Regions from separate parts of the Homo sapiens genome. Here all the other regions are linked to region 1. Evidence: promoter capture Hi-C in 16 types of primary human blood cells and fetal thymus (Javierre and others, 2016). All regions are on one chromosome and are shown on one strand. Each heading gives the region's core, a stretch centred on a gene start or on the middle of the fragment in contact. The rest is flanking DNA. Distances are from core to core; before and after follow the strand shown. Region 1 holds the start of RBL2 (RB transcriptional corepressor like 2). Region 2 overlaps CHD9 (chromodomain helicase DNA binding protein 9). Region 3 overlaps FTO (FTO alpha-ketoglutarate dependent dioxygenase). Region 4 overlaps CHD9 (chromodomain helicase DNA binding protein 9). Region 5 overlaps FTO (FTO alpha-ketoglutarate dependent dioxygenase). Region 6 overlaps FTO (FTO alpha-ketoglutarate dependent dioxygenase). Region 7 overlaps CHD9 (chromodomain helicase DNA binding protein 9).

Evidence for each region. The method cuts DNA at HindIII sites, captures the fragments that hold promoters and counts their contacts. A CHiCAGO score of 5 or more calls a contact.
Region 2: a contact is called between a fragment that was not itself captured here and the fragment with the promoter of RBL2 in region 1, in 3 of 17 cell types (neutrophils, total CD8 T cells and fetal thymus). The highest score is 10.4, in neutrophils.
Region 3: a contact is called between a fragment that was not itself captured here and the fragment with the promoter of RBL2 in region 1, in 1 of 17 cell types (non-activated CD4 T cells). The highest score is 5.0, in non-activated CD4 T cells.
Region 4: a contact is called between a fragment that was not itself captured here and the fragment with the promoter of RBL2 in region 1, in 12 of 17 cell types (neutrophils, naive CD4 T cells, naive CD8 T cells and 9 more). The highest score is 25.7, in neutrophils.
Region 5: a contact is called between a fragment that was not itself captured here and the fragment with the promoter of RBL2 in region 1, in 2 of 17 cell types (total CD4 T cells and total CD8 T cells). The highest score is 8.4, in total CD4 T cells.
Region 6: a contact is called between a fragment that was not itself captured here and the fragment with the promoter of RBL2 in region 1, in 2 of 17 cell types (naive CD8 T cells and total CD4 T cells). The highest score is 6.1, in naive CD8 T cells.
Region 7: a fragment that was not itself captured here is called in contact with the fragment with the promoter of RBL2 in region 1 in 8 of 17 cell types (neutrophils, total CD4 T cells, non-activated CD4 T cells and 5 more); the score reaches 8.2 in neutrophils.

Annotation. Positions count from the first base shown.
Region 1 is chr16:53,433,090-53,436,361 of GRCh38, reverse strand. RBL2 (RB transcriptional corepressor like 2) reads right to left here and starts at 1,891. Exons shown (of 22, transcript NM_005611.4): 1 at 1,566-1,891. The coding sequence starts at 1,805. RefSeq lists an enhancer at 897-1,006 and a silencer at 1,617-1,836. The HindIII fragment of the contact is 5,814 bases long and covers 1-3,272 here.
Region 2 is chr16:53,081,684-53,085,036 of GRCh38, reverse strand. The region is part of intron 1 of CHD9 (chromodomain helicase DNA binding protein 9); the gene reads right to left. Among named protein-coding and RNA genes, the nearest start is that of CHD9, 28 kb to the right of the region's middle. The HindIII fragment of the contact is 344 bases long and covers 1,822-2,165 here.
Region 3 is chr16:53,740,192-53,743,488 of GRCh38, reverse strand. All of the region lies in intron 1 of FTO (FTO alpha-ketoglutarate dependent dioxygenase), which reads right to left. LOC124903691 (a long non-coding RNA gene) reads left to right here. Exons shown (of 3, transcript XR_007065070.1): 3 at 1,737-1,937. Among named protein-coding and RNA genes, the nearest start is that of FTO, 38 kb to the right of the region's middle. The HindIII fragment of the contact is 2,471 bases long and covers 258-2,728 here.
Region 4 is chr16:53,132,917-53,135,987 of GRCh38, reverse strand. The region is part of intron 1 of CHD9 (chromodomain helicase DNA binding protein 9); the gene reads right to left. Among named protein-coding and RNA genes, the nearest start is that of CHD9, 79 kb to the right of the region's middle. The HindIII fragment of the contact is 621 bases long and covers 1,322-1,942 here.
Region 5 is chr16:53,719,778-53,722,751 of GRCh38, reverse strand. All of the region lies in intron 1 of FTO (FTO alpha-ketoglutarate dependent dioxygenase), which reads right to left. Among named protein-coding and RNA genes, the nearest start is that of FTO, 17 kb to the right of the region's middle. The HindIII fragment of the contact is 2,701 bases long and covers 318-2,974 here.
Region 6 is chr16:53,913,884-53,916,813 of GRCh38, reverse strand. All of the region lies in intron 7 of FTO (FTO alpha-ketoglutarate dependent dioxygenase), which reads right to left. Among named protein-coding and RNA genes, the nearest start is that of FTO-IT1, 120 kb to the left of the region's middle. RefSeq lists an enhancer at 880-2,525. The HindIII fragment of the contact is 6,118 bases long and covers 1-2,930 here.
Region 7 is chr16:53,102,698-53,105,586 of GRCh38, reverse strand. All of the region lies in intron 1 of CHD9 (chromodomain helicase DNA binding protein 9), which reads right to left. Among named protein-coding and RNA genes, the nearest start is that of CHD9, 49 kb to the right of the region's middle. The HindIII fragment of the contact is 221 bases long and covers 1,470-1,690 here.

The DNA.
Region 1 (3,272 bases), core at 642-3,141:
TACTAACCAGCTATTACGTGATACTTGCTCATGTATCACTAGACTTCATACAACTTAACTGCTATGAGTTGAAATACCTCAAATAAATGGCGATAATGCTTGTTCTATCTGATTTACAGGATTATCTTGAGGGTAAAATAAGAGCTTGTTTGGAAGCCTTTAAGGCCATTTACCAAAAAAAAACCCAAAAAACAAAAAACAACATAAAAAGCCAACCAGTCCTTCTCTTTGCCAGACTACAGAAAGGCACTGAGAGATGAATAGGAACATAGCTTACTCAGCCAGATCATGTAAATATACAAAGAGCTTAGTAAACTTGAAAACACTGTCCATATGGGTGCTTTATGTGCCAGAAACTACATTATTGCCTTATTTAATCTTCAGAACAGCTCTGTGAGGTAAACACAAATATCTCCAGTTTAGAGATCACCATACTGAACTTTTCCAGCGGTTTCAGGTCTGTCGGGTTCTAAAGCCACCATACACTATCTTCTGCAGACCTAACAATTCAAAGAGGGAACTAGTAATTGAATTAAAATTCTATTAATGCAAATACAAATTAAAAATAACCTCACTCATCAGTACACATAGCCAAAAACATCATATTTAAATAATACCTTGGTTAGGCTTTGCATCCTGGACCTATTTGCCCGACTCTTTCTACAAATTAATTATAAAACGACTTGAGAAATCAAATGGCCTCAGGTTTAAATGCCACACACACAGTCAAACAGCTGATAAACAATCCGTACTTCCGTGTCACTTCCCATTGGCCCATGAAGGGGAGGTGCATACAAAGCTGACACTCACTGGCTAGAATGGCCATTTTTCTCATCTGCAAGCCCTGTCCGAAGGCTGCGACCTAACACACCCGGATCGCAACAACAACAGGAGTCCTGTGCAATGCCCGGGGTGACCAAAAAGCCCTCGAGGTAGCCACAGTCCTGATCCTAGTGACAAATGGGGGCATGTGTCTACATCCGGGTCGGCGGAGGGCTCATTTCATCTGGCCTGGGGGGAAATGAGTATTAATTTGTTTACACAGACGTAAACACAGCCCAAAACGCATCAGCACGTTGACTCAAACGCCCGCAACGCCAGGGCAAAGGCAATTTGGTTAACAGGGGGAAGCGAACAGACGGAGACGCCTGGAGACCCAGGTGCCACAACCCGGTTAATCGCGGTGCAAATAAGGGCAAGTCCCCTCCCCTTGTCCGTGTGGTCTTGACAACGACACTAGTTCATTCTACTAACAAGGCGGGCGGGGGGTCAGATGGGCCACACACACCCATTTTCCTCAACGGGACCCCAGCGCGATCTCAGCCTTGCTGTGCTACTTTAGGGCAAGACGCGTTCCCCATTCGGAAGCCGCAGGAAAGCGCGGCGAGAGCGGGTTAGCCCTCGGAGCGGCTAAGAGCCTCGGAATAGCGCAGAGGAAGTCCCCACCCCTCTCGGGGCTGGGAGCCCGCAACCCGCCCGAGAGTCTCTCGAGGCGCGCGACGCGGCTCGGAAGGCACCGGTTCACGCCAACTAGGCCGGAAGCGCCCCTCCGCCCGCGAGCGCACCTCCAGCGTGTAGCTTTCGCTCATGCTGCGGTAGCTGTCCCAGGCCTCGGCCCGCGCCGCCTCGTCCATGTTGAGGCGGCTGCACAGCTCGTCGAACCGCTGCTGGATCTGAGGGGTGGGCGACTCGGCAGGCGGCGCGGCGTCTTCCGCCTCGCCGTCGTCCTCCTCCTCCTCATCCGAGGCTGCCGCCGCCGGAGGGGGAGGCGGGGGCGGTGGCGACTGGTCACCTCCCGACGGCATAGCGCACCCCTGGGCGGCCGGACCTCAGGTGAGGTGAGGGCCCGGGCCCGCAGCCATTCAAACGGCGAAGCGCCCGCCCGTCCGCCGCCCGCACCGCGCCTGCGCCGCCGCAAACGACGCTGACCGCCTGCAGGCACCCGTAGTCTTGAGCACGGGCTGCTGGGAAACGTAGTCCAGGCCGGCGGTTCAAGGGGGCCAAAAATCATGTTTAAAAAAATTAGCTCCCCTAGTTTCACCAGGGGTGAAATAAAAGCACCTTCCCCGCATTTTAAACACGTACCTCCCCACCGTGAGAACATTCAACAGGGCTGTACTGACGAGAAAATGTCCAAAAGACACTGACGTGTGAAGGTTTCGTATCCAGGCTGTTCCCAGAAGTAAAACTTCCTCATCGCCTGGATATCCTTATCTAAAAAATAGGGATAATAGCAAGGGCCTGTCTCTGTACGTTCACGAAACTGCCTTTGCAAAAATCCTAACAGTGAGAAAGTTATGACAGTGCAAGGGATCTGACCTAAATGACTCCACGCTTCTCACTTCCGAGCTGCCCTTGTTCATTCCTGGGCGAAGACCTAACTAACTACAGGAGGAATTTAATTTCTAATTTCACTTTGAAACAAAGATTGTAACAGTCCTTTCCAAAAACAAACCCCATTCTTGCCTGGGGATCAGTCTGCCTTTGTAGAACTAACAAATTAGCCACAAGATTAGAAATTATGATTTAGGAGGCTTGCAGCCAGAGGCTATAAGATTCCTGACCTCCCCAATTGCTCTCAGGGATAACATCACTATTGTAAAACCTAAGATTGGTGCTGGAGATACTTTTCAGACCGCGCATTCCGATGCACTAGCTGGCGCCACTCAGACCATAATCTGGCTCAACAAGTTCTGCAATTCCACTCAGTAACAGAAGACAGCAAGAGCCCACTTCAACCCCCTGTGATTTCACCTCCCACCTGACAAATTAGCATTCGCCAATCCCTGGCCCCCTACCCGCCAAGTCATTCTTTAAAAACCCCAGTCTCCGAATTTTCTGGTAGGCTGATTTGAATAACCAAACTCCTGTCTGCCGTTCAGCTGGCTCTGCGTGAATTAAACTTTTTTTTTTTTTTTGAGACAGAGTCTGGCTCTGTTGCCCAGGCTGGAGTGTAGTGGCACGATCTCGGCTCACTGCAACCTCCGCCTCCTGGGTTCAAGCGATTCTCCTGCCTCAGCCTCCTGAGTATCTGGGATTACAGGTGTGCGCCACCGCACCCAGCTAATTTTTGTATTTTCAGTACAGGCAGGGTTTCACCATGTTGGCCAGGCTGGTCTCGAACTCCTGACCTCAAGTGATCCACCCACCTCGGCCTCCCAAAGTTCTGGGATTACAGGCGTGAGCCACCGTGCCCAGCCAATTCATTTTATTTCCAATTCTCCTTTCTTTATTTTAATTTTTTAAATTGCCAATCCTTGATTTATAAATGG
Region 2 (3,353 bases), core at 744-3,243, 350 kb after region 1:
ATTGACTTAAGTAAAAAGTATTGCAAAAGACGATGTTATGAGCCAAACAAAGCCTGTCTAGCAGTCCAAGTTTACCCGAGCACCCCCAGTTTGCAACCCTAACCTAGGAAGTGGGTCCTGTATGCCTGCAGTATGGTAGAGGGTGTGGACAGACGAAGCCAGGAGGTCAGATGAAGGCATACCACGAAAGACTTGACCAGCATCCTAACAGGGTAAGACCGCCTGATGTTCCTGGGGCTCAGAAAACACTTTCCGGCTTCTGTGATTGTGATTTTGTTGTTGCTGTTGTTGTTTTGAGACGAAGTCTCACTCTGTTGCCAGGCTGGAGTGCAGTGGCGTGATCTCAGCTCACTGCAACCTCCGCCTCCCAGGTTCAAGCCATTCTCCTGCCTCAGCCTCCCAAGTAGCTGGGACTACAGGCGCCTACCACCACGCCCGGCTAATTTTTTGTATTTTAGTAGATACAGGGTTTCACCATATTGGCCAGGATCGTTTCGATCTCCTGACCTCATGATCCACCCGCCTTGGCCTCCCAAAGTGCTGGGATTATAGGCATGAGCCACCGCACCCTGCCAGGCTTCTGTGATTTTATCATGCTGTATCTGCTGCCAGTTGGGTCCTTACCAACAACACTCTAAACTGCTTCAGAAATCCTCCTCCTCTTCAAGGCCAGTTCAGGACTCTTTCTTTGGGTAGGGCAAGTTTTCACTTGAGTCTCTGACCACATTTGAGTCAACCTTAAGAACTTAAAATTCACCTGCCCATAGAAGAATTAAGTGACACCTTCCTTTCCTTCACATTCCATGGTCATGACCAGCAAGTAACTGCATATTTAAGGAGCTCTTCTACTGGTGCGGTGGCTCACACCTGTAATCTCAGCAGTTTGGGAGCCCAAGGCAAGAGGATTGCTTGAAACCAGGAGTCAAGACCAGCCTGGGCAACATAGTGAGACCTCACCTCTACAAAAAAATTCAAAAATTAGTCAGGGCTGGGTGCGGGTGGCTCACGCTTGTAATCCCAGAACTTTAAGAGGCTGAGGCGGGAGGATCATTTGAGCCAGGAGTTTGAGACCCCAGGCTGGGCAACAAAGTGAGACCCTATCTCAATTAAAAAAAAAAATTAGTTGGGCATAGTGATGCACACTTGTAGTCCTAGCTACTTGGCAAGCTGAGGTGGGAGGATCGCTTGAGGCCATGAGTTCAAGGCTACAGTGAGCTATGATCATGCCACTGCACTCCAGCCTGGGTGACAGAGTGAGAGACAGGTTTTATTTTGTTAAAAATAAAACAAAGAAGTCGGGGGGTGGGGGCGCTTTTATTTTCAAAAAAAAGTTTCAAGGACAACTTCTGTTTCTCATCTCTGTGAGAGAAAAGAGGGAAACTGAGGCACGGAGTTGGGGGCTATTTGCTGAAAGACACCTTTGGCAGGACTCCAAAGAGTGGGCAGAACCACATACTAAGCTATTTTTCAAAGTTCAGGTGTCTTCAGGAATTGTCCATAATAAAGATAAGTAGAATTTCCTTACAATGGAATGGTGCAGAAATCTAACAGGCAGAGAAAGAGGGGAAAAAACCTTAAGCAAAGGTGTGGCAATATAATCTCTTTCTCTGGCATTATCTTTTTGCTGCCAGTTAGATTCTTTTAGTCTTGCAATTCCCTTATACAGGAAATGAGAAAGATGAGTGGAAGGAGACGATAAGAGGAGAAATTTCAGAGCAAGGGCAAGTGTGTTAAATGAATGACTGCCTACAGTAGGGTGTGTCCAGGAATGTCTGGGGGTGTGTTTGCATCCTTAGTTTATGCAAGTTATGCACCAAAGCTTTGCATCCTTAGCTATGCAAGCCATTTTGGTGGAAGTGTTGTTTCTCATACTTCAGGAAATACAATACCCTCCTATGGGGACCTTTGTGATTTGTCACCCTCTCTCCCATCTCCTCAACACACTGTTGCCAGTCACTTAATCAATGCCTATTTGTAGAATATCCTCTTGGTACCTGGCACTGTGATATGTACCAAGGTTACATCAATGAACAAGGAAGACACAATCATAGTCCTCAGGGGGCCACAGTTTAAAAGGGAGGCAGACGACTGATGGGAAACCACAGTTCAGCAGGGTGAGCACTCAGATAGAGGACACAAAGAGGGAGGGCATGGAGGAGGAAGCTTACCTGACAGGGCAGAGAGGAGCTGGGAACGTATCCTGGAAGAAGGGAGTCTAACCTGGGATCTGAAGGATGTGCTGGAATTGGACGGGTAAAAAGCAAAGAGAATGCTTCAGGCAGAGCCAAGTGCATGGGCAAAGATCTGAAGGTCGAATTCCTCCTGCACCTGATGAAGATCTGTGGTTGGAAGTAAGGCAAGCTCTGTCCTGGGAAGGTTTCCAGGGTTCTGGGGCCAAGTAAGGGACCAACAGGGCAGTGGCTATAAGCTGAGGCTGAGAACCTTAAAATTCTTTGTTCTCAAATTTAAACCAATCGGTTAAAAGCATTTAAAATAGGCTGGGTGCAGTGGCTCATGCCTGTAATCCCAACACTTCAGGAGGCAGAGGTGGGAAGATCACCTGAGCCTAAGAGTTTGAGACAAGACTGGGCAACATGATGAAACCCTGTCTTTACCCAAAGAAATATAAAAATTAGTTGGGTGTGGCGGCAAAGGCCTGCAGTCCCAGCTACTCAGGAGGCTGAGGTGGGAGGATGGCTTGAGCAGGGAAGGTTGAGGCTGCAGTGAGCCAAGATCACGCCACTGCACTCCAGCATGGATGACAGGGCAAGATGCTGACATACATGAATAAATAAATAAATAAATAAATAAATAAATAAATAAATAAATAAATAAAATGTTCTCCTGTCCTTAAGATACTTAGAATACAGGATGGAGAACTAAGTGTTTACCAGACACTGGAAAATAGTCCTTCCTCCTGATATGGAACACCAACACCAAGGTTAAAGCACAGAGCCTGAGACAAAGTGACTTTTAAATTCCAGTGCGCAGGAGACAAAGAACATTCATACATTTTGTTCTTTCTCTTTCTCTCTCTCTCACACACACACATACACACTAACCTGGTGAGGTAGGCAGAGTAGGTGTTAGACTTTTTTAAATATTGTTTTTATAGAGGAGAAAACTGAGGCTCAAAGAGGAAAAGTATCCAAGGTTATTGGTTTATTCATTCATTCATTCATTCATTCATTCATTCACAAACTTGACAAATATAAACAGATCACTTACCAGCCTGGGCAACATAGTGAAACACCATCTCTACAAAAAAAAATTTTTTTTTAATTAGCCAAGCATGGTGGCATGCACCTGTAGTCCCAGCTACTTGGGAGGCTGAGGTAAGAGGATTGCTTGAG
Region 3 (3,297 bases), core at 244-2,743, 310 kb before region 1:
AGATCTGTTACCTAAACATCAGCGTATGAGCACAGGAGGAACAGGAGTGGAAAGTAAAGGATGAAAAGGTAACTGCAATCATCAGAGTGCATGTCCCATTCATTTCAGATCTCCTTGTTGTCTAGGCTTCCTTATGTCCAATTTAGGTTCCTTCTAAGAGGTGGCACAGGACAAAGCCACAACCATCGACTGGGAGAAAGAACCAAAAGGAGCCACCTAGTGGCCAAGCAAGCTTTCATTCCGACCACAGTGAAGCTTCAAATCATGTTAACTTAAATCACTTTATAATCCAAGAAAATGTAGAAATATAATATTTTTGTAGCAAATGAAGGGGCATTTCAAATTTTAGGCTAACGAAAATTCAAGGCTTCTATAGATTGTTGAGAGCCTGACAGTGGAAAGGAGACAGGCAGCTGGAATTATACATACCTGGATTCACTTACTCATGGATAGAGTTATACACTCTAACCTTTTCCACATCATGGAGTGTGCAGAAAATTATATTTTTTAAGGCACACTGGAGTAATCAGAAGAGGCTGCCCAGAGTTAGAGATGAAGAGACCAGGGGCTCCAGTTACCCCTGTCCCCATCTGCCCATTCCAAGAACTAAAGGAACCAATATCTCCACAAACTATAACCCACTCAAGGCACACTAGTGGAAAGCGCTCCTTCAACAACCTAGTTAATCTTATTGGGCTTTCTTTTCTTTATCTATAAAGTGTGGCAAACAATACCCAGTTAGGTTTATGATGAAGATTAACTCAGATACTGCATGTAAATAAAATGCCTGGTACATACTATGCACCCAATCAATGTATTTTTTTCTTCCTTTTATGCTACTTCTTTTAGTATCAACACATAGGGATCCTGTTTTGTCACAAGCTAATTTACAAAGCTATATTATGTGATTTTAAGTAACAGCAATAATCATAGCTCCTGTTTAACTGAGTGAATATTATAAGCCAGACCAGTGCTGGATTGCCTCACTGAACCTTTATAACCACCTTAGAAGGCAGGGATAGTAGATACCTTCTGTTGTCCACCCAGTGTCTATTATCGAAATTTTTCTTATCAACAAAATCCTGATTTTGACCTGGGCAACAATGTGTCACCAAAAAAAACTTGCCTTCCCAGACTTTCTTGCAGCTAGGGGTGGCCATATGGCATAGTTCTAATTGAAAAACTGGAAGGGCTGGTATTGACCCTTCCTGCCAGGCCAATGCCTGAAGGTCTACCCACCACATTTAAATGAAACCACATAGTAAAGCAGCCTCCAAGAAGACCCTCAATAATCCCTGCCTCCTGATATTCCCACCCTCCTGGAATTCCTCCCCTTCAGTATAGGCTGGACCTAGAAATTCACTTCTAACAAACAGAATACCGCAGAAGTTATGGAATATTACTTCCCAGAGTAGGTTACAAAAAGTCTGTAACCTACCCCCCACTCTCCCCAGATACTCTGGGAGAAACTAACAAACATGTTGTGAGCTGCCCTATGGAGACAGAAACGTGGCAAGGAATTGATTCTCCAGCCAACAGCCAGTATGGGTCTGTCACTTCCCAAAACCTACATGAGTGAGCTTGGAATCAGATCCCCTCCACCCCAGTCAAGTCTTGAAATAAGCGATTTCCCAGCCAACAGCTTTGTGAGACCCTGAGCCAGAGACAACTAGCTAAGCTGTATCTGGACTCATGACCCATAGAAATTGTAAGGTAATTAATATTTGTCGTTTCAGATTGCTAAGACTTGTGGTAACTTGATACACAACAATAACAGAGTTTAGTCACCCTCTCTCTATGAAATTGCATGCTGAGAATGGCAGAAGAGGACACTGGAAAGATCCTGGTTCCTCAATGACCTTCTTGGGCAGCTTGACCACTACCTAGGTCATGATTCAGATTATGTGAAAAAAATAAAGTTTTATTTCATTAAACAATTAAAATCAATTTTAATTCATATAGTAAGTACTACTACTACTACTATTATTATTACTGTTCCTAGGTAACATCTAATGGGTTTGTACAATACAAATAAAAGAGCAACAGAGTGGTTCACAGATTATAATCCAATGGAATAAACAAACAATGCAATAGAAGTTACTTGTAAACACTATTCAGCAAAAAGGGTAAATTACAAAAGCACATAGAATAACCTCATTGTTTCAAAATGTAAACACACACACGCAAATGCACAGAAAAAGTCTTGAAGGGTATAGACCAAGGGTCAGCAGATTTTTTTTCTATAAAGGTCCAGATAGTAATAATGAACACGTCAGGCTTTGAAGGCCTATAACTAACTACTAAACCTGCCATTTTAGCATGAAAGCAGTCTAGATAATATGTAAATGAATGAGCATGGCTATGTTTCAATAAAACTTTATTTGGGGAAACAATTTTAAATTTCATATCAATTTTCTCATGTGACAAAATGTTACTGTTACTTTAATGTTTTTCAACTATTCAAAAATGTAAATACCATTCTCAGCTCAAGGTCGATTAAAAAACAAGTGGCAGGCCAGATGTGGCCCACAGACAATAGTTTGCTGACCCCTGTTACAGGCCAAAATGTCCGGAGTGATTATGTTGTTTGGAAAGTAAAATTAAGGTTGACTTTTACTTTCTTCTTTAAACCTTTCAGCCTTGTCTTAATTTATGGTTATGTATTTTATTATTAGAATATACAGTAAAGTTGTATTCATCTGGGGTGTGCAGGGGAGAGAGAAAAGCTTCTTGTGTGGTATTGGGACATTGAAATGTGCTGAAAAAGCCACAGACCTGGTTCCCACCAGATCATCAATAAAAACTGTCAACTGAGCCAGAGATAACATTTTCAGTGCCCCTAAACTGGAAGGTAATCATGTAGCTATTTGAAAGGAAGCATTACAAGATGAAGAATTGAAACAGATGGGGAGAACCTACTGTAAAATGTGCATGTTTTCCCTCAAAAAATAAGATTATGACACACTGAGCAGAAAGGCAAGAAAAACCAGAAAATATTCTATCAGCACATTTTCAATCCTGTATGCACATTACAAGTTTCATATTTTCAGAAAATATTTTCTTCACTTAGCAGGAACGTAACATGAAGATACAAGTTAGAAAATTCTAATTTGCAACTGTTTTCAAAATATACGTAAAATTTTTAGTACGATAAAACAGATGTAACTGATGACATCCAGTCACTATGTCCTGCTCTTTAAAAAAAATACACTCTACACCTACCCAGGTAACTACACATGTAATATTCAGCTTTGTGGGCACAATGTCACAAAGCCACTCTAGCTGTCAGCATTCTTG
Region 4 (3,071 bases), core at 383-2,882, 300 kb after region 1:
ATATCAAGATTATAAAACTTTTGTATTCTGCACCATCACCCAATACTATATATATCCATTCAATATTATATTGATTTATTTCTCTCAAATTTTCATATTTAATATAATCCATTATGAAAATATTCAAATAAACTTTCAAAAACTGAAGTGCATTGTTAAAAAAGATCATTTCACCAGTTTTTCTAACATAAATATGAAGCTTGCTTCTTCCTCTCAAATAACACAATATGAATATGTCATTGTATGGTATCACACTTCTAGCTAAACCTATTCTAAGGCGCTTATCATTCAGATAAAGGTAGACTTCTTCTGAAGCACTTGTCCAGGGATGGTGTTCAAAACTTGTTTTCTTGCCAAATCTTTCCTTTCCCTCATCTTCTTCATCTCAGTAAATCACACACCACTATCTATCTAGTTTCTCAAGCCAGGAACCAGGAAATCATTTTTGACACTTTTCTTCTCACATCCAATCCATCATGAATCTGTCAGTTGTTCCTCCTCCACACCTCACCATCTCCTCTCTAAAATATATGTATAATCTGGCTACCATCATGTTTTTCCTGGACTACTGTAGTATTACAATATCTTTACTTTCACCCTTGCCTTTCTCCAATCCATTCTCAAAGTAGCATTTTTAAAATGTAGATTAAAGCGTATCACTTCTCTAATTCAAAATCTTCAACGACTGCAATGTCTTTAGTAAAACCTGTAAGTCTTTAATATGCCCCACAAGGCCCTGTATAATCTGCTTTCTATCTCTCATTTCAGCTCATATGGTTTTCTGCCTTATTATGCTTCTGCCATCCTGAACTTTTCATTTCTTTCAAATATTAAGTTCTTTCCTGTGTCATAGCCTTCAAACATATTTTTCTCTCTTCCAAGAAACTCTTTTCTCTCCTGACCTGTCTTCTTATTCTGTTTCCACTTAGAATCACCAACTGAGGGAAGCCTTCTCTGAGAATACAACATTAATTTCTCCCCATTTTCTCCACCATAGCACTCTGTTCTTTTATTTCACTGAACTGATCATAAGTTGTAATTTTCCATTTGTTTATTTACTTGTTCTTTATCTGTTTGCACTGTTAGATGGTAGGTTCCATGAAGGCAGGGATCACTTATTATGCACTTAATACATATATCATAAATTAAGGGAGCACTTCATAATATATACATTTAATGAATAAATGGATGTGAATGACTTTGAGTCCAGAGAATAAATTACAGTTCAAAGTGGTTTCCCCTTCTTTGGGTCTCCCATTGTCACTTGATCAGCTTTCCAACTGTTTCTAAAAGAAAGGAATAAAAATTGTTTCTGAAAGCTTAAAGACAATACAGTAGAGGAAATGTCAGGAAGTTGTACATGGTATGCCAAATAAGTGCAACAAATAATTATACTAAGATCTCATGGGAAGGAGAAATCCCTAAGGGCTACAAGGACAAGATACGATTTTATTCACAAGGTGGAATTTGACCTGAGTATTCACAGACTGGTAAAATTCCAAGAGGTGGAAAAGTAAGGGAGTGAAGCCCAAATAAGGAAGTAAACAGAGGCACAAAGTGCTAGGGAACAGTTATAAAACTGGAATGTGGCACTTTAAATTTACAACGTAAATAAGTGTAAAAAAGCTAAATCTTATATAAGAAATCTATATCCCACGTTAAGACAACTTCAAAGAATTTGAAAGGTTAAAATAACTCTATCTCATCAGTATCCATAAATCTCTTCTGACTCCAATCTTTGGCTTCTGAAGTTTTCCAAGCACTTACAACATGCTTCCATTAGTTTTTACTCTGACCAACTGCCTCAAGTTTCCATATTCTTACCTGTGTTTTTTATTCACTCATTACCCGATGAAATTTCCCCAGTAGATTAATTCATAGTTTTTCTTTATAGACTCTCTAGGATTTCATTTTTCTTCTCTGTTATTTACGGAGGTAAGCTTTTTTTTCTATGACATTTCGATCAATAAACACATCTTTAGAAAATCTTAACTTTTCATATGTACCAAAATTTTGTTTTACTATTGATAGATGCAATAGATTTTACTTTAAAATCTGTATTTCTACTTCAGTTCTTGCCTCTTATATTCATATATCGAGCCCCTCCTTCAGCTCTATCCTGTTTCCAGAGGTAAACCAGGAAGGTCTAGCACAGTGCCTTGTAGAAAGCATTCGGTTGCATTAGATAAGAAGTTTGTAATTAAAGTTTCTAAAGATACTTCCAAGTTGAAAATTCTATGGTTTCCTTAATCTTATCTTGTCACGGGCTTTTTCCATGGACACCGTTTTCTATCTGTATTCATATCTGCCCACCCCATAAGTTTTTGATTTCAGAGGATAGACCTCATAGGGTACTTAGAATCCTACAATAGTAAAACTGGAGGAAACAAAGTTTTACACAGGAGGAAACTAAGGCTCACGGATGTCAAGAAACTTAATATTATCTACACAGTTAAGTGACAAAGTCCCGATTCTCTCTAGCCAGCACTCTATCCAAGAAGAGGATTTTACTGGTTATAAAAGCATCATAATTTTTTTTTTCTTAATAGAGACGGGATGCAGTCTTAATAAGTTGCCCAGGCTGGACTTGAACTCTTGGCTCAAGTGATTCTCCTGCCTCAGCCTCCCTATTAAGAGCCGCCCCCGATTAAAGTAGCCTGCTCATACACCTTACTTAGTATGTTTTTGACTAGCATTGCTTTTATCTGATGTTATTTCCTGTGCCTTTAGGATATCATCTCCTGGTCAATTAATCACAAGGGTTTTTTGTTGTTGCTGTTTTTAACTGCAATACTATACATACTTACCTGAAACTGTTCAGGAATGACAGTTACCCTTAATCAAAACTGGGAGGCAACCACTTTTCCCAATGCACTTCAGGTCTGTAATACAGACTTCACGTCTACATTATATGGTCTATAGTTTATAGGAAACTCTCCAAGGACAGAGACCTGCCAATACTTTGTGGTAAACTATAACTACATAACGTGAATTTTTAAAGCAATAGAAGAAACGGCCGGGCGTGGTGGCGCGCACCTGTAATCCCAGCTACTGGGGAGGCTGAGGTTGGA
Region 5 (2,974 bases), core at 419-2,918, 290 kb before region 1:
GGTTCAAGCGATTCTCCCGCCTCAGCTTCCCGAGTAGCTGGTATTATAAGCACACACCACCACACCCGGCTAATTTTTTGTATCTTTAGTAGAGACGGGGTTTCACCATGTTGGCCAGGCTGGTCTCAAACTCATGATCTTGTGATCCACCTGCCTCGTCCTCCCAAAGTGCTGGGACTACAGGCGTGAGTCACCACACCTAGCCTACACAAAACATTTTCTAAACAAAATATTTTCTACTGGTGATGGAGAGCAGATTAAGAGTTAAGGTTAAATAACTGTTCAGTAAAGTAAAAAAAAACAAAAAACAAAAAGCTTAACTTCCAATCTATACATGTTTCCATTTGACAAGAAATGCTGAGAGTCAACCACATTTGTAGCATCTTACTAGACACAAAAAACAAATTTATAGCAGTGTTGTCAGCCAGAGGGATCTTATAATCCCCATAGGGAAAAGAGAATTACTGTGTATAAAACACTACTATGTATAAGCAATCTCAAAATGTAAAATTTAATATGACCTAACGTCAACCACATACGGTACCATACACCAGTAAATGTACCATACACAAACTTACCGTTAGTATCATACTTTTTGACACAGGAAATAAAGTCGGTAAGGAAAGAGATGAATGGAATAATCCTCAAACGCTTCATGAAAGAGGAGGGACTGAAGAAAAGACCTCACAGTCTGGTGGATCATACAATCATTAAAATAGTTTTTATTTCTCAGATGAAACTCTTTTTGTAGATCTCCAAAGTTTGAGCTTATAAACAACCAAGCAGAATTTACCATCAATTATCTGAGATATGAAGTCTCCCAGTAATCTTTAAAAGCAGCGCAAAGGGTAAGTATCTCTGTTTTTTCAAAAAATTATACTTTTTCCGATTGAAATGAATGGTTTAAAAAAAATATGGGGTCAGAGGGTGACAGGAGCACATTGCACTGTCATAATGCTGAAATGTCAGTGGTTTGTGAAATCCTTCGGTGACCAATATTCGAAAAGAGAGTATGAAATACCTACCCAGAAAATACTATCACTCTGCATTTGGATAGTGGTTAGCAATTTTAAAACAACCTGTTAACCTAAGACTGACTTATATGATGACATTTATTTCCCCAAAGAACATGGGAACTCTCAGGTAAGTAAAAGAGACTTACTTGATACAATTATCACCCTTCCATAGCAATGAACAAAATAAACTAAAAATAAAAAATAAATCTCAGTGCAAGAGAAACAATGAAAATGTAATGTAACTGCAATTGAAAGGGAAGGAATAATCATACATTTATTTTTCATCCAATTGAGAAAAAAATTTTAAAAATATTAATAGCTGTTCTAAATGGTATAAAAATAGAAAATATTTTTTATCAATTTTATAATTTGTTATCAATCTAAATCAACTCCACTATTTTATTAGTCTATATACTTCGGGAACAGAGTATAATGTCTCTAGCCGCTCTTCTGCAGAGGAAATGAGACTGTGCCAAAAGGTTGACATCCTCAAGTTACGCATGTGCATTTCACCAGACTGTGTGTTGATGTAGCTGTCTAGGTCACCCCGAGTAAACTGGGAGAAGCAACGTGATTGGGGCAGGGCTCCTAAGTCTTGGTCCAATTGAGGATCACTTAGTACTTCATGTTTGAAAAGTAGGTCTCAGGCCAGGTGCAGTGGCTCATACCTGTAATCCTAGGACTTTGGGAGACCAAGGCAGGCAGATAGCTTGAGCCCAAGGGTTTGAAACCAGCCTGAGCAACATAGTGAGACCCAGTCTCTACAAAATGTACAAAAATTAGCCAGGCTTGGTGGCACAAACCTGTAGTCTCAGCTACTGAGGAGCCTGGGGTGGGAGGACTGCTTGAGCCTAGGAGGTCGAGGCTGCAGTAAGTTATGACTGTGCCACTGTACTCCAGCCTGGGTGACAGAGCAGGACCCAGGACTCTGTCTCAAAGAAAAAAAGAAAAAGAAAAAGAAAAGTACATCTCAGAAAACATCCAGTCAACAAATATTTACTGTATATCTGTCAACAAAGTTCTGTGCTAGATACTTCGGAAGACACAGATATATATATATCTTTTATATATATATAAAAGATATATATATATTTTATATATATAAAAGATATATATATATCTTTTTAAGTTTCTGTGTTCCTAATACAAAGAAATAATAAATGTTTGAGATGATTAAAATGCTAATTATCCTGATCTTATCACTATACACGATATGTATCAAAACATCACTATGTACTCCATGAATATGTACAATATTGTCTATTTCAAAATAAGTTTCTGTTCCTAAGAACTTGATAATTTCTACATGGTGGGGAGGGGGAGAAGTGGTGGATGAGATAAGAATGCTAAAAACCTATTTTAAATCATATTTATATCTACATAACATTGTTAGTATTCAAAGTTCTTTTACATTTATTATCTTATTGATGACATCTCAGATGAAGCAGGGAAGGGAGTTATTATCCCCATTTTACAGATGAAACATCACAGAGATTGGAGGACTCATACAAGGTAATACGTAGTAAGTGGCATATGTGAAACTCCAAGTTTAGCCTTCCAACTACTAGTGATGTGCACTGGTAGTTGGAATGTGAGACTACAAGTTTAGCCCTCCAACCACCAGTGATGTGCACTGGTAGTTGGAGAGCTAAACTTCCACTAACTATAGCAGGCTACTTACTATTTGTGTGGAGTGAAAGGGGAATGGGGGAATTCAGGGTATTCATTTAGGAAACATTAGTTCAGTACCTATTGTGTTCAAGACTCTGCGGACATTGGGGTACAAAGAAAAATAAAGTATAGTCTATATAACTAAGGTATGAGAAAGAAAATGAAAAAAATCATTAGAATACTGAATAAGTGCTACAAAAACATGCACAAATTGCTACAGAAACCAAAAAGATAAAACTATTTTAAGATTTTGAAATACTTTCCATATTAAACAAAAAAGAATAAAA
Region 6 (2,930 bases), core at 2-2,501, 480 kb before region 1:
GTGAAAATAATGATTTAAGGCTATTTTCACATTTATGAATACTACATATGAAAGGAATGCGTCAGATGAAATGTTAACTTCTGAGTGCTAGTATTATCCAGAAGATCACACAAGTCCTTAAGTTTGCAGATACTGCTCTGTGTATATGTTTAGTGCTCTGTGTATACATTTAGTGCCACTAAAAGAGGCCATCATTCCATCTAAAGTGTGGCATAGGCAGCAGAATCGTAGCTTCTCTCTGGTTAGGAAAGAATACCCAATGTTCAATGTTCACATGAGCAAAACGTGATTTACGGACCATCTATAAGCTCATTAGAATTTGTGTCTTACGTTTATAGGAACAAGATTTCCAACTCTATACTTCTTACAAATTTATTTTTTTAATTCTCATTATACTGCATTCATTTTCTTATATCATTCCAACGGTGATTTAGAATAAAAGAAACGATTGTGGATGGCTCAATGAGAACACAGAGAGACCCAAGCATATGAACCGGATAGTGGTACCCTTCATCATAAGCAGTAATAGGCATCAGTCTGCTAGCCCGCCTTTGCCCCTTAACTCATCTTTTAATGCCTCCCACTTAGGTAGGGCACTCTGAGGTCCAGAGTTATAAACTACATTTCATTCAGTTTTAGGGAATGAAAACAATATTCCAACTTCAATTATGAATCCATTTTAAAAGCTATATCCCCACTGAAGCACCTTGATATAAATAGATGCAGACTGTGCAGAGTTTAGCCTTAGCTTTAGAAAGCCAGTGTGGTTGCCACAAAGTTGCTTTGAGCTGCCCCAAGGACAACAAAAGTCATGTTTCTGTCTTGATTAATACAGTCTAAAACCTGCAAACTACTGCTGCGGTTGGCATGAATTCCTACTTAACTCTGACTTGCCACATCCAGAATAGTTTTATGCTTTGATAAGCAGATATTATTGGCTCATCTCAGACAGACAATTGCCTCTCCTGCCTTGTTGAGTGGTTACACATTCCATACCCAAAGATTAAACTGTTGTCGAAAACCAGTGATGGGCACAGCCCTTTCACGCTGAAATTGTCTCCATGAGACTGAGCAGGAACATGTTAACTTTGGGGTTCAGACAATGGGTATTCTGAAAGGATTAGAAAAATGGGCAACAACTGAACCTCCTCCTCCCTCCTGTGTTCGAGTCTACCACCTGCTGTGGTATTTTTGTTTCAGTAACAAAGATGCCTTCATGTTGGAGGCTCACATTTAGTGTTTGCTGAACTGGCCCCTTTAGTTTTGGTTAACTCTTAAGGAGCAGAAAAAGAAACATTTCTTGCCTGACAAATAAATAAAACATCCTCCTTTCCCGATTGTTGCCCACCAAACAATACATGTGCACCTATGGACATATGTGCATTTGTCTTCATATACTGAGACCTTTATACACCATACAGAAGCTGGGAGGATACTCTATTTATATTTAATAAAGTATTATTGGTCAATAAGAGCTGCATAGCATTTGTGATTTCATGGTTCACTATAGTAACAGGTGCTGTGATAAACAGGAATGTAAAGTGTTAAAAAGAAAGAAGGGATCACTTCAGAGACATTAAGCAGCTTTAAACACTGACAGCAGAAAGGGAAAATTTTTAAGCAATTTGGTTGGGTCAGTAAAAAGTAACACAGGTCAAAGGAACAAAATGGTCCCCCAAAATTCTGCCCATTGATAAGTAAGCATACCGTCTTATGGTTGGGTGCACAAGGCAAAAGCTAAACAACTGTTGTATGGAAACAAAAATATGCTCTCTTTGTGGCTCTTTTACAATAAGTTGCTTCAGCTTGGTGAACGCTTGGGGCCCCCATTCTCCCTGTAGACATGGCTGGGGTATACATTAATGAAAACAAAAGGGTCCATTTTCATTGTAACCATGCAGAAGGGTTAAGCATTTGACCTTCAAGTATGGTGCGCTTGTGCTCAGTGGAAAGGTTCTTGACAATATAAACAAGAATTACTGCTGTTAGAGAAAGGAAACACAATTAAAAACAATCTCAGATGCTTGTTGTACAGCTGTTCAAGTTTCAGCTCTGTCTGACCTCTAAGGATGCTACATGTTTAACGGAGACAATTTAAGATATTTTAGTGAGTCCCTTAAGCATTCGCCATGGCCGTCCTTCCACACGGGAATACCTATCCTTAAACACAAAGCGCTTTTCCAGTAATGAGATTTTACGCTGTGGGGTTTACCCTTAAAGCCATTTTGCCTTCCCAATCTGTCCTCCTCTTGCTATCTGACCACCCTGAGAAGTTGCCACAGACCAGATCTTATAGGGACTTGACAGGAGGCAGGAATGTTTGACTTTAGAGAGTACAATTCTTTAAAAATAGTTTGTATTTTTAAAGCAAAATCTTGTAACTTACTTTCCAAAAAAAGACGTTACTGAAGAAAAGTTTCTATTCTGTTAAACAATTATTTATCTGCAAAAAAAAAATTATTTCAACAAAAATGCAGTCATTTATTTCCAATGTGTGAAAGAGAAAGCACTGAGAACTCCGAAACAGAATTTGAAACAGGACAAAAAAAAAAAGAAAAAAGAAAGAAAGAAGAAGTATTTCTTCTAAGACATCACAGGAGATGGTTTTAAAAGAAACAGAAATGCTAAAGTCCAAGCTGAGGCAAACCACTGTCTTCCTGTCTTTTGATCTTCTTCGAGTCAGCAAAAGGCTCTGAAACTCTTCCACAAATAAGAGAGTCCCTGGGAAGTGATCGTGAGAAGACGCTGTCCTCCACTGGGGCAGGACAATGCGAGAAGGCCGAGGGACTGTGGCCAGGGCCTATGACCAGCTTTTTTTTTTTTTTTTCTTTTTTTGAGACAGAGCCTCACTCTGCCGCCCAAGCCGGAGTGCAGTGGTGTGGTCTCGGCTCACAGCAGCCTCCGCCCCCAGGGTTCCAGCAATTCTCCTG
Region 7 (2,889 bases), core at 331-2,830, 330 kb after region 1:
CACTGGCGTATTGTTAATATTAGCAAAAGTTTGGAAACAACCTAAGTGACCATCTTAGGGAACTGGTTGACCAAATTATGGAATACCCGTACAATGGAATACAGTAAAATCATTTTTAAAAAATGAGAAGACTGAAATAAATTACTAATAGAATAATTTCAAATGAGAAAATCAAGTTGTAGAATAAGTGTATGCTACCACAAAAAAAAGGCAAAACAAAAATACGCACATAAAACCGTATTTGCTTATATACATTTACATACATATATATGAAATATCTCTGGAAAGGCCCATAAGAAACTGAAATTATTGGCTTCTTCTAGAAAATGCACTGGATACTGGGGGGACAGGGTTTGGGGGAGACACCTCACTATATATCCTTTCGAATTTTGAATCAAACAAATATAATTCCTACTGAAATAAATAAACTTAATATTTTAAAGAGGCTGCGCGTGGTGACTCATGTCTGTAATCCCAGCACTTTGGGAGGCCAAGGTGGGAGGATTGCTCGAGGACAATAGTTCAAGACCAGGCTGGGCAATTAGCGAGACCTCCATCTCTACAGTTTTTTGTGTTTTTTTTGTTTTTTTGTTTTTTTTTAATTAGCCAGTCATGGTCTTAGCTACTTGAGAGGCTGAGGCAGCAAGACAGCTTGGGCCCAGGCGTTCGGGGCTCAAGGTAGTAAAATTACATTAAATGATTTTTTAAAATTAAGCCCTTCAACTAGGAGAATATACGAGAAAGAAGTTCATTATAACTTTTTTTTTTTTTTTTTGAGACAGAGTTTCATTCTGTCACCCGGGCTGGAGTGCAGTGGCACGATCTCAGCTCACTGCAACCTCCGCCTCCTGGGTTCAAGCAATTCTCCTGCCTCAGCCTCCCGAGTAGCTGGGATTACAGGTACCTGCCACCATGCCCAGCTAATTTTTTGTATTTTTAGTAGAGATGGGGTTTCACCATGTTGGCCAGGTTGGTCTTCAACTCCTGACCTCAAGTGATCTGCCCGCCTTGGCCTCCCAAAGTGCTGGAATTACAGGCACGAGCCACTGCACCTAGCCCATTGTAACTTTCTTATACAGTTTCTGTAGGTTTGAATTGTTTTCAAAATAAAAAAATAATTTAACAAAATAAGAATCTCTCCTCCAGGGTGATGAGTTGAGTTGGGTGCTTTCAGCTAGGGGCTGTCAAGGAAGGAGAAGTACCCAAGAGAATTTGCTGGCTTCCAATGTATATCAATAGTGGCCTGAGAGCCAAGGGCAGAGTGGAAATCTCTGCTCTGCTGCCATCATGAAATGGGTTTCCAACATTGGCAATGCAATTTCTAACTGTGCCATAATCGGAAACAACATTCTTTAACTGAAAATGGCCAAATCTTTGTGCTGGTTAAATACAAGGGGGAAAAAATAAAATGTCAGAGTTCACCCTTTTCCTCCAAACATTTAGGAAAGGAGTTAAATGCAGTCAAAGCTTAGATTTTAGAAAAATTCCCCTGGCCAACTCCAGGGAAGAGGAGCAGCTCCACGACCAGAGCAAACCAGGTATTTCCTGTGCAGGCCCAGCAAGAATCCTGTGCAATGAAGTCGTTTATAACAGAGGAATGCTTTGGCGAGAAGGGAAGGCCATGGAGTAGGAAATCAACATATTTGTGTTCCAGTCCTGAAGGTACCTCAGCCCTTTTCATATACAAGCTTAATGTTTTAAGCCCGAGTAGCTGCCTCTATGAAATGCAATCATAAAAGCTGCCTTACTCACCTTCCTGTGCTGTTGTGATGACCAAAAGGTAAAGAGGGGTACAAAAGCATTTTAAAAACTATAAGGCACTAGAGACCAATGTTAGGTATGTACAAAACAAAATACCTGTTGAGGATAACTTTGAAGTTTTCAATCAGAGGAAAAAGCAAATGTGATCTTTAGGATGAGATAGATAAGAACTTTCTAGCTCTACCCCCTCATCTGCTAGAGGACTTAGGGCAATTCTTCTAGCCATTCAGAACCTCAGTTTGCTCACTGCAAAATGAGGTTAACGCTCCCTATTTAACAAGCTGGCTGTAAGAATAAAGTAAATAGCATATATAAAGTGCTGGGCACATAGAGAACTCACACAAAGATGAGTTCCCTTTTAACCTGCCTTGGGTAAAGAATCAGCGTCTCCATCAAGGGATACTCCATTCACTGATTTGCTCATTCATCAAACTCTCTGTGCTATCTACTCAATTCTTCTGCAAATCTAAAAGTGTTCTAAAAATAAAAGCTAAGCTGGGCATGGTGGCTCACACCTGTAATCCCAGCACTTTGGGAGGCTGAGGCAGGAGGATCACTTGAGCTCAGGAGTTGGAGACCAGCCTGGGCAACATGATGAAACCCCATCTCTTTTTTAAAGAAAAAGAAAAAAAAAACAAATAAAATCTACCTTTTTTTTTTTTTTTAAAGAGACAGGGTCAGGGCCAGGTGGGGTGGCTCATGCCTATAATCCCAGCACTTTGGGAGGCCAAGGCGGGCGGATCACGAGGTCAGGAGATCGAGACCATCCTGGCTAACATGGTGAAACCCTTTCTCCACTAAAAATACAAAAAATTAGCCAGGGGTGGTGGCGGGTGCCTGTAGTCCCAGCTACTCAGGAGGCTGAGGCAGGAGAATGGCGTGAACCCGGGAGGCGGAGTTTGCAGTGAGCCGAGACTGCGCCAATGCACTCCAGCCTGAGTGACAGAGCAAGACTCTGTCCCCCCAAAAAAAGAAAGAGACAGGGTCTCACTCTGTCACCCAGGCTGGAGTTCAGTGGCACCATCACAGCTTACTGTGGCCTTGAACTCCTGGGCTCAAGCAATCCGTCTGCCTCAGCCTCCTGAGTAGCTACGACTACAGGCATGCACCACCATGCCTGGCTAATTT